Regions from separate parts of the Homo sapiens genome. Here region 2 is linked to region 1. Evidence: promoter capture Hi-C in 16 types of primary human blood cells and fetal thymus (Javierre and others, 2016). All regions are on one chromosome and are shown on one strand. The core of a region is centred on a gene start or on the middle of the fragment in contact, and the rest is flanking DNA. Distances in the headings are between cores, read along the strand shown. Region 1 holds the start of WARS2 (tryptophanyl tRNA synthetase 2, mitochondrial). Region 2 overlaps SPAG17 (sperm associated antigen 17).

What was found. The method cuts DNA at HindIII sites, captures the fragments that hold promoters and counts their contacts. A CHiCAGO score of 5 or more calls a contact.
Region 2: a contact is called between a fragment that was not itself captured here and the fragment with the promoter of WARS2 in region 1, in 1 of 17 cell types (M1 macrophages). The highest score is 5.0, in M1 macrophages.

Annotation. Positions count from the first base shown.
Region 1 is chr1:119,138,890-119,142,109 of GRCh38, forward strand. It overlaps WARS2 (tryptophanyl tRNA synthetase 2, mitochondrial), which reads right to left and starts at 1,764. Exons shown (of 6, transcript NM_015836.4): 1 at 1,666-1,764. The coding sequence starts at 1,755. WARS2-AS1 (WARS2 antisense RNA 1) reads left to right here and starts at 1,507. Exons shown (of 7, transcript NR_125975.1): 1 at 1,507-1,904; 2 at 2,858-2,924. RefSeq lists an enhancer at 1,536-1,845. The HindIII fragment of the contact is 7,742 bases long and covers 1-3,220 here.
Region 2 is chr1:118,143,196-118,146,423 of GRCh38, forward strand. All of the region lies in intron 3 of SPAG17 (sperm associated antigen 17), which reads right to left. Among named protein-coding and RNA genes, the nearest start is that of SPAG17, 40 kb to the right of the region's middle. The HindIII fragment of the contact is 2,678 bases long and covers 16-2,693 here.

The sequences.
Region 1 (3,220 bases), core at 514-3,013:
ACTGAAACAATAGTAGAGGTTTAAGAAATTTTTTCTTTAGCATTTATAATGACTTAGTGTCTTAAACTTCCCTGGGCAGTCATTAGCAGGCTGCAGTTTGTCTTTTTTTTCTCTCTCTCTTTGATTCTCTATTCTCAAGACATCTTCAATTCTTTAGTTTGGAATAAGGGGAAGTTTGGGTCTACGGCTTAGCTACTTTGATAGCATAGGTGTTAATGTGCTATAAATTATAAATAATCATCTCATTCTAGTTCTGCAGAATCAAACCCTCAAATTTCAAGGAGAGGAATTTTTGATAAATTTATCTAATTTTGAATTGTCTTACCTAACATTGCTGCTGAAATTTAAGGTGACATTTGAATAGTTGTTTGCTGACAAGCAGCTTTCCGGTATATATTAATATATTAGCTTATAAGAATTTTGTGAGGCTCACATTAATAAAAAACGGAAGTTCAAAAAATTTATGACATGACTAGAAAAATAAGTTGAACTTAAATTTTGGTTTTCATAATTACTCTCATTGGCTTTGTTTTGGCTTCATAATCATGGAACTATAGATTTTCCAGAGGTTGAAAGAACATTAACGTGTCAATCAGTCCAGCTCTCTTCCTCCACTCAATATGAGCAAAAAAAGAAGAAAAGTCCCAGAGAGATTGTGACTTGTCACACAGCTGTCAAGTGGCAGACCAAACCCTTGACCTCTAGGCTACCTTCCTGTCTAGCGCTGTTTTCAACACAACAGTTACAATAGGTGCGACATCCTCACACCTACTCATTATGGCAATACATATGCAAATGATGCCGGGAAATTACCTAATAAAATCACATTCTCTCCTTTCTCTCTAGTTCCCAGAATATATCTCCCGTAGATAAAGTATGTCAAAGTGCTTGCCACTGAGACTGTACTTGGAAGACGTTTGGTAAAATCCTGAATAACTGAAAGGGTATCCCCTCCCCCTGACTTTTTTGCTATGAGGGTAAAATTCCAAATATTTAAGACAATTCCCAATAAGACCAGGCCGCGACATGGTCTCCGTACGACGAGATTAATGGTAACAGCAGTGTTGTCAAGCGCAGGACAGGACAAACTCTGTAGCAGCTTGCGGTCACTCTTTCACAGCCTGCTAGATAGAGCAGTGCTGTGGAGCCACCAGGAGCAACCAGAATGGAAGATGCACTGACACTTGCTCAAGTACCACACTGCCAACCTGCTGCCCCGACCCAAGCTGCCCAATGCCTAACAAAACTTCTCTACTCTCTCCGATAGCCCCTTAGCGTGTTGTTAGGGTAAGGAGGGTAAAAACAGTAATAAGACCACAAGAAGAGCAGTCTCTAAAACAACCCGTCTCTGAAAACATCACACGCGGGGTAGGCTCACCGCGTTGCCCGGCAACAGCGGCGGCGCTCCGCTCCCAGAACTGGAGGTGGCGGCAAGAGGTCAGAAAGCGGCGCGCTTTTTCCACCAAGAAACCTTTACGTCATCACGTATCCTTGCAACGTCACTACGCTCTGAGCAGGCCGACAGTCATAGACGAGTAGACCTTAGGCGAGGGAAGGCATGTACTTTCCCTAAGAAGCGGGAGGAGAGAAATAAATAGAGGGCAGTGGGATGAGAAGAACCTCGCGGGATGGGAAGCCGCGGAGGGAAGGGCCGTCTTTGGTTACCTGGAGAGCGGGAGCAGCTGCGGATCCCTTATGAAGTGCCCGGATGAAGCTCCAGCGCTCACGCGCTTTCCGCATTGAGTGCAGCGCCATCTTGAGAAGGGCGGAGCCGTCTTGTTTGGAATGACGTCTGTTCAGAGAGCCAATCCCAGTCTCGCGACTCCTGCTTGCTGGGCGCGGCTTGGGCCTCCAGGCTGCGCAGCGCAGCCGCTATCGGGCGGACTGCAGTTCTTGCCGAGCAGGTGGGGACAGGAGCGGGGTGGGGCTTTAGTGTTTTTCCCTGGATCCCTTGTCTGCTCAGCCTTCCTGGAAGGAGAATTTCCTTGGGGGTTATTAGTAGCAACGCTTTAGACTGGAAGAAAGTCAAGTAGGCTGCATTTCTGATCTTAGCTATGTGAAGGCAACCTTTAAAAAGTTTGTTTAGAAACTCCCAGTTCTCTTAGAGGGTAATATAAGTGGTCTTTTTAGACATGTGTGGCCTCATTTCCCTTTTTTTTCTTTGAGACAAGGTCTCACTCTCGCCCAGGCTGGAGTGCAATGGCGCGATCTCGGCTCACTGCAACCTCCACCTCCCAGACTCAAGCTATTCTCCTGCCTCAGCCTCCTGAGTAGCTGGGACCACAAGGGTGCGCCACCACGCCCGGCTAATTTTTGTATTTTGGTGGAGACAGGGTTTCACCATGTTGCCCAGGCTCTCTCAAACTCCTGAGCTCAAGCCAAGCCATCTGCCTCGGCCTCCTAAAGTGCTGGGATTACAGGCATGTGCCACCGCACTGGACTTATGTGGCCTTATTTCATTCGTCCTGTAAACTTTGTTGAACCCTACCGTAATGTGCTGGGCACTGAAGGTACAGAGAAAGACATATCTTGTCTTCAAGTTGTGTACAGTCTAATAGAGTAGCGGATAAATAAATGATGTACACTTAATAGGTGTTAAAGAAGCAAGCACCGCAAGTTTTAAGGAGGAGTGGTTATGACTGTGGTGTTTCAACCTAGTCTAGGGAAGGCTGCAGGAAGGTTATACCTGATGGAAGAAATTGTTTTGTTTGGGGTTATGAGAAAGTTTAATACAGTTTTTCTGCTTCTGTTAATTCACCTAAAAATCTCCCAGACAGATAACGAGTGTTTCAGTAAAAATATAACTGGAAGAAATTCATGACAATTCCTTTATGTGTTTTGTTTATAATTCATCCAGCTACTGAAAATTACCAAGGAGAGGTAGGAGATAAGAGATGCCTATAAAGGAGCTGAAATCTACCAGGGTAAGACAAAACAGTAAATTAAAACCATATAGGATAATCTTGTAGGTATACAAAGTACTGGTGAAGTTCAAGTATAATTGGTGTAATTTAGAAGTGAGCAGGAAAGGGATGAAGGCAAAAAAAAAACTAGGAAATCAAGTTATAGTCTTCAACAAAGCTGATCAGTTTGGTTTTGGCTGTTAAATTTGAGGTGCTTGTAGTACTTCCAAAATGTGATGCCCATTAAATAGATACATGGGTCTGGAGCTCAGAAGAGATTTGAACTACCAAACAGATGGTAATTGAAACCAAGGAAA
Region 2 (3,228 bases), core at 105-2,604, 1.0 Mb before region 1:
TACTGAGAGATTTAAAGCTTAATTCTAAGTAACTAGCAGTAGCTTATATTGAAGACATATTAAACCACAACAGTCACTTCCAGAATTTAAACTATTTATTCTCAGCTTGTGTGTGATGCAAGTAGAAAAAACAGACTTCTGAATCAACAAGTTACCTAACCAGTCTGATTCAAATTTCATCATTCATAGGTATCTGAAAGGTTGTTAAGATGGTTAAGTTAGCCAGGTGCAGTGGTTTACACCTATAATCCCAGTAATTGGGCTGGCAGGGGCGGGAGGATAGCTTGAACCCCAGGAGTTCAAGACTTACCCAGGCAACATAGCACGCTCCTGTTCCCCACAAAAAGAAAAAAGCCAGCCAAAAAAAAAGAGATTAGGTTAGTTGATATATATGAACTACCCAGCACACAAGACTTGGAATACATGTGTTCAATAAGTGGTAACTTTTATTATCACCATATGTAATTATTGATTTTTCACAGTTTTAAATACAGAAACAGAATGATACAATCTTCTTGATTCCTTCCCCAGCACCCCTCCAATCCTGGTGTCTGTAGAGTATAGGGTGTTAAGAGGTTTCAGAAACCACCCCAGCCCAGACCTGGAGGAGAAGCTGTGATGACTTCTCTTCATTAGCTGAACCTCACTTTATTCTTGTGGCTGGCCCTCCACTGAGGTCTGTCTTGGAACTCCTGATGAGATTCCTGCCTTGCCCACTGCCTGCAGGTCCTAGCCAGCAACCCAGTCCTTGTGTGGCATGGGCTTCCTGCTGCTGGATCCCCGGCTCCACTGCATCACCACCACACCTCCCCAGTGTCTACCTCCCCTCTCCTGGACTGCTAACTATTTGCCACATGGGCTTGGCCAGCTGCCTGACCCCCAGGGTGGAAGAGAGCTGGGGCATGATTTGAATTGTTTTTGAATGCCTTTACTTGAGTTCTGCTTTTCTTTGAAAATAGAACTCCAGGTTTCTGATCTGGGAGGCAAACGTATTCACACCCTGGGAGCCCATTCCTAAAGCAATGGAGCCCTGACCTTCTGCCCCTCAGTGACTAGCTTGAACTTGACTTTCTCTGCTGAGCTGCTTTGGTGCCCTCCAGAAATGTGGGGGCCCAGGGCTGTTAACACATCTGACTGCTCTTTTCCCCATCTTGACAAAAGTCATTCATTTGTAACTCTTCATAGCCCTTTGTAACCGTTTCTAGCATTACTATTTCTCCTCTTCTTTCCTTCTTCGGGTAAGAAATGCCTCCAAAACCCAGATTTTGGCACAAGAACTCCTAGATTGTTTTTATAGTCCCAACGTAGCACTTCTTTGTTACAGCTTGATATTCCCAAATTTTGTTCCAAGTCTCATTATTTTACATTTATAAATATCAGGTTGTATTAATTGGTTCCAGCTTTAAAAAATGTTCCATCAGGGGTTATTTCTGCTATTTTGATAGTGGTTTCTAAATGTGGAGTGCCGAGGCCCTGGTGTGGGCCACGTTCTGTAGGCATCCCTGAAGGACTGATGTGGAACGGAAAGATCCGCAGATTCTGAGTCTTGCTGTATTCTTTGAAGACTGTACTGGCCATAATAGCTTCAAAGAATTTCAACAAGTTCCTAAGACATGACCTTCCCTTTCCGAAAATCACGTTGGCCAGGCTTGCCTTAATCAAGCTGTGCTTTTCTAAGCATCCTTTTACTTGATCTCCTGCAGCAGTTTTTAATACTTTTCCTACAAGTGAAGTTAAACTAACTGGCCTGCAATTTCCTGGTGTGTCCCTAAGCTCTATGAAATAACGGCATTAGGTTGGCTAGCTTCCAATTCTTCCAGAATTTTTTTGTTTTGTTTTAAAGCGCGGGATTGAAAAGGCCAGAGAATGCTTCCTGTCTCCCTTTTCCTTCGTTTCTTCCATGACATACTGCTCTCTCTGTTCCCAGTAGAGCTGCCATTTTAATAACTTCAAACCTCTTAAATGTTTTCACATATTATTTGTACCTATCTCTGAAGCATGAGTTTTCCATTTTTCATTCTGACAAGGGCCACCCCCAATATAAGGGCTTACAATTCTATTAAATTGACTATTAATTCAAGGCACTGTTTAAAAAATGAGTTTCATATCAGGAATCTGAAAAAGAGTGGCAAAATAGATTATAATTAAGCCTGTGTTCTCACTTGTCAATTACTAATAAATACATGTTGGAAAAGACCTGAGAAAAATTTCTATACATCCAGGAAACAGAAGTCAAAAAATGGAACTATTACATCTGGGCATACTAATCTGAGGCACTAGCATAGTGTCTTAAAGTATGGTGAAATGCATTAGATCTGAAGATCTAATTTGCATTCTACATTTTATTAAACTGCATTTGGTCCATTATTTTTAAATCTAATATCAGAAAAATCTTTCCACATTTGATGGTCTCCCGGTTGCAATAGAAAGGCCCGTAGAAATATTTTAAGATATATTTGTTAAAAAGTTATTTTAAAAATTATTTTCTTAAAAATATGAGAATTTTTTTACTGACAGGAGTAAAAAAAAAATTAATAATTATTTGCATTTACAAAATTGCACCATATCACATAATGTTTAGGATAGTTCAAGTTCTTTATTGTACAGAAACTTGGAAAATTGTTTTGAAATAAGTGAGTCATCAACTAGAGCATAAGAACTTTTATTCTTTATAGACAATTTTTGTTTCAGTAAGCTTTTCATTTTTTTTATTTTTCATTTTGTGATGACCTAATGCGTCTTTTATAAATAAGTCACAGGCACATAAATCACGGCCCATTTGTGTGGATGAAGGCTCATTTCCTGGTTGGTAGGCATGGTGACCACCATCATGAAATGAAAAGAAACATGAAGTGGAATTTAAAAACTTTTAGGATGGTTGGTTCTGATTTCAGATAAATTGGATAAGTAAACCCCTATCAACTAGTAGCTTTTTCTGATTTACCAAAGTGATAATGTCAAACCTAAAATTTGCACATTTATCCCATAAAGTTCACTTACTGTGTATCAGATTTAGTCACAACTGGGAGAATCTTGGCATCTATGGTACACGTAGAACTCTCTCATCGAGAACATTTCAGTTGGTTTTGAATGACTACTGATATTTTCCTTTTTAATTTTGGTCAGGACTGACTATACCTGTAAATGAACAGGTCAGATTTTCTATGTGGGCCATAAAGCATACATACACAGAAAATTATTTGTGCATAGGTAGCAAGTATACTTAAG